Regions from separate parts of the Homo sapiens genome. Here region 1 is linked to region 2. The links are contacts of gene promoters, found by promoter capture Hi-C in blood cells and fetal thymus (Javierre and others, 2016). All regions are on one chromosome and are shown on one strand. The core of a region is centred on a gene start or on the middle of the fragment in contact, and the rest is flanking DNA. Distances in the headings are between cores, read along the strand shown.

Region 1 (4,125 bases), core at 400-2,899, 1.1 Mb after region 2:
CAAACTGTACGGTCTTTCACATTTCATTCATTCATCAAGCATGTATCGAGTCCCTTCTGCATGCTTAGCTTTTTGTCATATGGAAGGAAGATACAAAAGAAAAACTGTTTCTGCCCTTCAGAATCTTTCCATCTCTTCTAGGAAGGAGATAAAACACCATATATCATTAAGAAATTTATAAGACTAGTCCCAAAACCAATGGTACAAGCAACATGCATTTTACATTTATGTAGAATTTTAGAGCTTGGAAACACTTTCGTGATATATAATCCTAAGAACAATCTTGTAAAGTGCACATTATTAGCTCCATTTCAGTGATGAGGAATCTGAGACAGAATTTTAAGTGACATGTCTCGTTCAAACATTATGAGTGGAAGAGTCAACACTTAAGCCTGAGTTTTCTGATTCTAAGCCTAGTGCTCTTTTCAACACAGCACTGGAAACCAAAGATTGTGGTACACAACAGGGCAACAGCCAGTCTTCTGCTCGAGGTCCAACTAAACTGGACCCATACCGAGCAGTGTCCAGCCAAATGTCCAAATTAATTTTATCCTGCAAATATTTGTTCTTCAGTGTAATACACACAGCACAACTACCATTTCCTTCGTCTTAGTGCCTTTATCTCCTACATTCCAGAAATGGGGATGTCAAATATTTTTTTAAATCTGGCCTAGATGGAATCATATAAATCTCAAATCATAATATAAATCTTAAAGGTCTGGTTTCCACCAATCCTTCCACATTTTGTTTTCCCCCAGCACTAGAGAGCCTAACCTACCCTCACCCCTTTCGAGCATTCTTGCTCCAAACGACCACCTATTTTAAGATGTCAATGACCCTTTCCCAAATTCTACAAATTCACCCCAGTTTTGCCACCCGACCCCAGCGCCTGCCCGGACACGTTCCCCTCCCTCCCAATAGATTTGATACCGAGTTCAGGTTCTGCAGATCCCGTTGCGATGCTGTCACACAGCACTGACAGATAAGATTTGACCTTTCGACTCCGTCCTTGGGGACTTCCCGCTGGCCAAGAAGGGTAGTTCCAATCCCAGGAAACGGGCTTCCTGCTCAGGAACGCAGCCTCTAGCAGCGCACAGTCTGAGGCAATGTCTCCGGCAATTAGAACGATGCTGGGCGCCCGGGTGTGCATCACTCTGCCTCATACTCCTACCAACTGCAGGGCACTCGGTCCGGCAGCCAGTCCATCCCACCCACAGCCAAGTCCCAGCCAGCCGGACCTTACGCAGGACCCCGATGATAGGTCGTTGACGGCTGCAGCAAAAGCCAAGGCCACCTGCCGCTGCTGCCCATCCCCGCCAATCTGAGACCCCCTAGACTGGACCGCAGAAAAGCGTTTCTATGGGAACCCCCCCACCGAGAATCACGTGACGCAATCGGACGACCAATCGCTTCTTACCTCTGCCCGCGGTCCAGCTTTTGGCCCTCCCTCTCGCCCCCGCCTCCTTCGCCCAGCCCCGCCCCTTGCCTGCGGAGAGCCCGCGCCTGCGCGCTGTGTCCTGCGCGCTCCTTCCCTCGCGCGCGCTCTCCGTGGAAGAGCAGGGGCAGCGTGGGAGGCGCCAAGGGAGCGCGAACCTGAGGAGGAAGAAACGGGGCTAGCGCGCAGGCCCAGAACGGTCCGAGCCGCGGCAGTCGGCGACGCCTCAGAGCGGAAGAGGGAAGTGAATCAGGCGCCGGGTAGTGGGTTGCTGGGCTGGGCTTGCTGAGGTAGAGGCAGCGCCAAGAAGAGGCCTTTGCCGCTGGTCGGGATTGGGATGTCGAAGAACACAGTGTCGTCGGCCCGCTTCCGGAAGGTGGACGTGGATGAATATGACGAGAACAAGTTCGTGGACGAAGAAGATGGGGGCGACGGCCAGGCCGGGCCCGACGAGGGCGAGGTGGACTCCTGCCTGCGGCAATATCCTTGCATTCACCGCCCTCCCCACCCCAGCCCAGCCCAGCCCGCCCTTCTCCTGGGACCCGGGAGCCTGCAGGATCCGCGGGGCACCGGCGCGGAGCTGCCCTCTCAACCTGCGGCTTAACCTGTCTCTTTGGGATCGCCCGCTCTGAGAGGGCAAGGGGGAAGCCCCCGTTTCCTACCCAGTCGGCAGGAGACGCGAGGGTCCCACTCTTGGAAGCCTGCCCTCCCCCGCGCGCCTTCCACGCCCCCAGATTCCTCAGGTTGCACCCGAGTGCCTGCCTGCCTCGGGAACTGGTCCCGCCGGCCGCGCCCTCGCGGCGCTGGGGAAGGCGGCCCCGGCTGGTGGGGAAGGCTGGTGCCGAGCGCCTTAGTTTTTCTTCCTAGAACTCTGATTTCCTGGGGTCACATTAGCTCCAGAAATTTCTGATTGTGGGGAACCTGCATCTTTCCTTAGTGGTTTTGTTTTTTGTTGTGTTTTTGTTATTGGTAGCGTTAAGGTAGTTTATTCCTTACCGGGGGGCGGGGGGAGATGGGACTGTTCGAAAATTGAGGGTCCCTGTGCTTTCAGCCCATTGGCCTTTTTAAAAAAAAAAAAAAAAGAAGAAGAAGAAGGGGATTTGGCAAAATATACATTGTACAGAATTTGTTAACTGGGGGAGGGGAATGAATACAAAAAATACAAAACTCCTAGAAGGAAGCTTGGAGCCTTTTACCTGCTAAGAAAAGGACAATAGAAAAAACAACGGGGAATGCGTGTGGAGAATCCTTGGAAATATTTAAAATAAACCCCAATGAATAAGATAGAAGATGAGTCATTCGTATAAAGCAGAATCATTTTTGTAATCCTAAAATTGTTTCCATTTTAGTTAAAATATGGCAGTCAGTTCCCGGTTTCTGTTTTTGCATATTTGAATATTCATAACTTTGGCTTCGCATTTGCATTACATCTTTTTTAGAAAAATGTAAATGTTGCAAAAAAACCGAAGCTGTAGTTTTAGAAAATCTCAGACACTGAATTTGTATGCATTTCTAATTCTTGGGTGTATTCATAAGGAAGACTCTCAACAATGTCCTGTTATAGTGGGGAAATATGAGAGTGAAAATATTTAATGGCAACAATATCCTTTTTTAAAGGCACCTAAATAGAGCATTAGACATTTATCAATATATAGATAGTGCTTTGCCACAACTTTCACAATTAATTAGCTGTTGCTCTTTTGCATTATTTAAATACTTAAGTGCTTGGAGTTATAAAAAATGAGCTAATCTACATCAGGCATGCTTCTCTAGAAATCCCTGCAGCCTTGAAAATAACAGCTTGTCAACCAGAGATTTTGTGTAAGAACTTTTTCTTTAGAAAATAAATGGTGAACATGCTTCCTAAAAACATTATTTGTGATGGATAGATGGTGTTTTATGAAACCCCAGTGTATTTTAGGTAATTTGTGGTGACTTTTAAATGGTACTGCTGTATCCATATCAGTGGATCTGCTTTTTGATCAGTTCATCTTAAAATATAAAGATACTGTCTCTTCTTACCGTTACATACAGCCAGGAAAGACAGCCCTAGTGGTGGGGTACTAGAGTTGGAGGAACAAGTGAACTCTGTGGTTTTCCTTTTAGGGGAATGTTTGTACATTCTGACAGTCTGATTGGCCTTCTGTTTCTCATGCTTGCTAACTCACTAGTGCTTTCAAAGAGAGCCTGAATTTAATAGGTATGGTCTAACACAGTTTGAATAACCTTTGTGAAATATGAGAGAAAATATCTAAAGCAAAAAATTAAGCTGCCACCTAAGGGACATATGAATTATTACATCTTCTGTGATGCCTCTTTTCATCAATATTGAGAGATTGCTAATGTGTATCATTCAGATTGCTAATCTGCCAGCATGTTCTACCAGCATTTCAGATAATACAGAATATGGTTCTAGCAAAAGTTTGGTCTTTATTTTTTCAATTAGAATCACAGGAAAAGACATATTTTGGTTGATAATAGGTTATTTCATTTGGGGGACTAATAATTCTGATATATATTTTAGGATTTCTTTAACACCACTCTAGGTAATGTTTGCATATGTATCTCACTGGGAAATGAAAGACTATCAAGGTGTTCACTTGATAGTTAGAACCAAGGGTGAAACAGTCTTTGCTTTATTAAAAAAAAGTCTAATGTTCTATTTTGCTTTTGATATTTTGCCTTTGATT
Region 2 (4,272 bases), core at 343-2,842:
AATGGAGCAAAAGTGGGAATAGAAAGAAAGGTAATAATCTGAAAGATAGAAGAGGTAAAATCTATATAATTTGGTAATTAATTGCACGTGGACCCCGAAGGCTAAAGATGAGTTGACAATGATTCCGATGCATTAATTTGAATCAGAAAACATCTTACGTTTGAGCTACCCTTGGGCTAGACATTAGGACATTTCTATTAGGGAGGTGGAAATGTGGGTCTAATGATCAGGACAGATATTGATTTAGAAATCAACCACAGAGATATGTTGGCTGAATCCTTATGAGAAGAAATCACCAAGGAATAATTAGAGTACAGAGAGAAAAAGGACAAAAAGAAAACCTTAAGGGAACACCTGTATTTTAATATAAAGTAGCGAGAGAATGAAGGAAAACGGGTCAGCCAGAGAAGAGGTAAGAGGTTAAGAGGTAAGAGGTAAGGTGATAAAAGTCAAGGAAGAAACGTTTCCAGAAAGACCGCCGAATACTGCTTAAAGGACACGTAAGTAATTTACTGTGGTCACAGAGATCACATCGAAGCTCCTAAACTCCGCACCTATTGAATGACCACACTAGAAAAACAATGTGGTTTTTCAAGAGGAACCGATGTGTCATTTTACCAATAGTTAACCTGGGACTCGGTCATCAAAATTCATTGCAAGTTCCAATCTCCTTCATTAAACCTTCTTTGCAGCCCACACAGCTCTCCTTACATTGAGCTTTTGAGGTAACTATTATTAATCATGTACGAGGACCCACGTGCTCCTTCATCCTTGTAGTACTGCGCGGTGGTTAAATGCAAGGGCTTCCGAATCAGAGGCTGGATGGATTCTAATACAGCAGTGTGACGAGCTCTTGTTAACCAACTTTTCTAAGCCTCTGTTTTCTCGTCTGCAAAAGGGGGATGGTGGTACTTACTCTATCAGAGTTGAGAAGAGTGCATGAGATGATTGCGAGTAAAAACCTTAGCGCAATGCCTTCAAAGGCTCAATTCATTTTGCTGTTACTGTGTTTTGGAATTTCCCTGAGGGTAGACGACTACTCCAACACTATTCCCTAACGCAGCAGCACTGACATGGGGACAGTGCGCCTCATTCAGCCAGCTCTCTGGGAAACAACTTTCTGAGGAAGAGAGATAAACAGCTGACGGGTTTCCCGGGACTCCGCAGCCCACCGAGACAGGGTTGACTGTAGGGCGCCGAGGAAAGGGGGAGGTGGGATCCCAGCAACCACTGGCGACCTCGGAGGACCGCAAGTCCCAGGGTGCAGCGCGCCTACCCCGGGTAGAAGCGAGAGACACGGCTCCGAGTCGGCTCGCGGGAGAGCCGGGGAAGAAGCAGTGCACACTGGGACTGGTAGTCCTCAGGGGGCAACTCCGCGGGTCGGAGGCGGGTCGAAGCGAGAGATCCCTTCCCAGTCCCGCCTTTTGTCCACGTCTCACTTCTCCTGGCCAATGCCCTCTCCAGTCGCCGGAGACAGCCCCTCTCCCATGAGGTCTCCATTGGTCCTGAGGCTCTACGGCTTCGGCCCTACCCGGAAGTAACGTTGGGGAGGCGGTTTCCTAGACTACGACACCGGAAAGCTGGGGGAGGCGCTCCGGGATACTGAGGGCGGAGGGCGGTGGCAGCGCTGGCGCTGGGGACCGGCTTGGTGGCTTCGGGAAACAGTTTGGCGCCGGCGGCCGTCCGTGTTACTCCGCATCCCGCCCCGTCTCGGCACGGCTAGCAGCCCCCTGGCCACCAGCGTCCAGCAATGTGTCTCACCGGCCGGGCGTAGCAGCTGCGCGTGCGCGGAACCGCGGGGCCATGAGCGAAGCCGGCGGCCGGGGCTGTGGGTCCCCGGTTCCCCAGCGAGCGCGATGGAGACTAGTGGCGGCGACGGCCGCGTTCTGCCTGGTGTCGGCCACCTCCGTGTGGACGGCGGGGGCCGAGCCCATGAGTAGGGAGGAGAAACAGAAGCTTGGGTAAGGGTGCTGGCAGCCTGGGGTGGGTTTCTCGGTGAGGCTGACAACAGGAGGGGTGCCTGTCATTGCGACCCGGTCGCGTAGTGGCCTCTCCTGTCGCGATTGGAACGGCTCTTCCCGCGCGAGAACCCTAGAGGGGTGGACAGGGTCCGGGGAGGTGGGAACCGCCGCCCGCGACCTGACCTCGGGGGAGCTGACGGGGTGTCGCCCTGGCCGCCGGTGACATGTGCAGGCTCCTTGAAGCCAGGCGCGGTGTGTCAACGCGGCTGCCATGTCAGTGGCCCAAGAAGGGGGCTACAGCCCGCATCGCTGCGCGCTGGAGTTCTGCGGTTGGCTGCCTGTCGACCGAAGCATGGTTAGCTTTCTCGCGCAAGTGAGCTTCCAACTGGGAAAATGTTGCTGATCTCACAGTAGTTAAGGAAATGATGTTTACACCTGTTACGGAAAAGGGGGCGTTCATTGGAACTTGAACTTTACACATTTTACTATTTCCTTGCAGTGTTTTCTTGCACTGTATTTTCATAATAGAATGTTTGGGGGGAAATTATTCAAAAGTCTCAAGTATACCTATTCAGTAGTTTTTATCCGTCTTGGAAGTGTGTTAAAATTATCAATTCTATTTACACCATTTAATTCAGAGTAATACATACACGAGGTCCTACACATGAATAAGAAAAAAGCGAAGAACCAGTAGGAAATGGGAGAAAGGCATGAACGGTTAAGCCAGAAGAGGAAATGGAAGTGGTAAATAAACATGAAAAGTTACTCAACCTCCATAAACGTAGGAGATGCAGATTAAAACGAGGAGCTAGCTGGTTTTTGCCCATCAGATTAGTAAATATAATACAAAACACAAGGATACGGTTCTGGTTAGTTAAGGAATAGAAAAAAAAGGCTTAGTGAGAGTGTAAATTGCTGTAACTTATTGGTAGTATCTACTAAAATTTAAATTGTGCACACTTTGATTCATCAGTTCTATTTCTGAGAATCTACCCTAAGAAAATAAAAGCACTCTTAATGCAGAGATAGATCCAGCCTGGGCAACAAGAGCGAAACTCTGTCTCGAAAAAAAAAAAAAAAAGTGCATTTTGAAAGAACAGCTCTTCCTTGGAGGAAATGGTTCAATAGGGTACGTTCATATTATGGAATAATATTGAGACATTAAGAAGAAGGAAGTACGTCACTGGAAGCCTATCCAGAATATATTTCCAAAACAAAAAAAAATGCAAGTTGTAGAATAATATGTATAGTATCATCCCATGTTTTTTTTAAAAAAGAAAAAAAAAATCTGAGCTCAGAAAAAAAGTGGAACGAAGATTATCTCATGGGGTTAGGCTGGAGGGGTGGTGGAACCATCAGGTCTTACTTTATGTACTTTAAATCATTGCAAAGAGTCTTGTATTCGTTTCTAAATAGCAATAAAGGTCACTTGATGGAAAAAAGCTGAAGTATCAACCATCAAAATAAAATTACCGGTAAACTCTAATAAATATCTTACATTTTCTCTCATATGAATTTAATGTATCATTGATAAGTTTTACCAAATATCTCACTCTGTGAATACTTTACATATGTTATCTCTGTACTCCTTCCTATTTCCCAATGAATATGATCCACATTTGCAAATGAGGAAGTTGAGACCCAAGGTTGACTTGTTCAGCCACAAAGCTAGTAATTGGTAGAGCCAGCATTCAAACCCAAGCCTGTCTGATCCCAGAGCCAGGCTCTCTCCAGTATGTTGCACGTTCATTAGACTTGGAAGAGAAGTATCAAGTCTGTTAAGAACCACAAGAATCTTATTTGACTATCACTACCCTTTCTTCATTTTTTATTAAAAACTTATTTGTAAAAGAGTCATTGGATAAATCATTTTTGACCAAAATTAGTTTTTAACTGGAAAAGTTCAACCAAATTGGCTTGAAATTTCAGCTCAAATTTTGAGATCATTTATGAAAGTGAAATTACAATTATTTAGGCTTGTTAGATTGCTCTACCCTTGAGTAAGGGTAGGGTAAGAATCTAGAGCTATAAACGACAAATACACAATTATATGACTGCTTTCTCTGGGAATTTTCAGAAAACTGAACTTTGATTCATTAGGTTTACCTGTGCATTTTTTAAAGCCCAAATAATGATTCATGATAAAAAGCAGAAAATGCCCCACCCCTTTCCCTCCCCACCAACAAACCAAATAGTTGATAAAGACTGGAATTGTCATGAATAGTAAGCAATTGCTCAATAACTTACACTTTGTGGAATTACTTAGCTGGTTATATGTAGTCTTATCCTTCATGGAATAAGCTTTTTGGTT

What was found. Contacts are between HindIII fragments. The CHiCAGO score rates a contact against its expected background, and 5 or more counts as called.
Region 1: the fragment with the promoter of ARPC5 here is called in contact with the fragment with the promoter of EDEM3 in region 2 in 4 of 17 cell types (naive CD8 T cells, fetal thymus, activated CD4 T cells and 1 more); the score reaches 6.8 in naive CD8 T cells.

The regions. Positions count from the first base shown.
Region 1 is chr1:183,633,307-183,637,431 of GRCh38, reverse strand. ARPC5 (actin related protein 2/3 complex subunit 5) reads left to right here and starts at 1,649. Exons shown (of 4, transcript NM_005717.4): 1 at 1,649-1,915. The coding sequence starts at 1,773. It also overlaps a transcript of RGL1 not described here. RefSeq lists silencers at 1,366-1,525, 2,006-2,055, 2,136-2,195, 2,147-2,365 and enhancers at 1,676-1,955, 1,953-2,453. The HindIII fragment of the contact is 3,712 bases long and covers 1-2,618 here.
Region 2 is chr1:184,752,178-184,756,449 of GRCh38, reverse strand. It overlaps EDEM3 (ER degradation enhancing alpha-mannosidase like protein 3), which reads left to right and starts at 1,592. Exons shown (of 20, transcript NM_025191.4): 1 at 1,592-1,961. The coding sequence starts at 1,804. It overlaps LOC105371649 (a long non-coding RNA gene), which reads right to left and starts at 1,276. Exons shown (of 3, transcript XR_922357.4): 1 at 917-1,276. RefSeq lists enhancers at 1,339-1,438, 1,909-2,008. The HindIII fragment of the contact is 1,960 bases long and covers 1-1,958 here.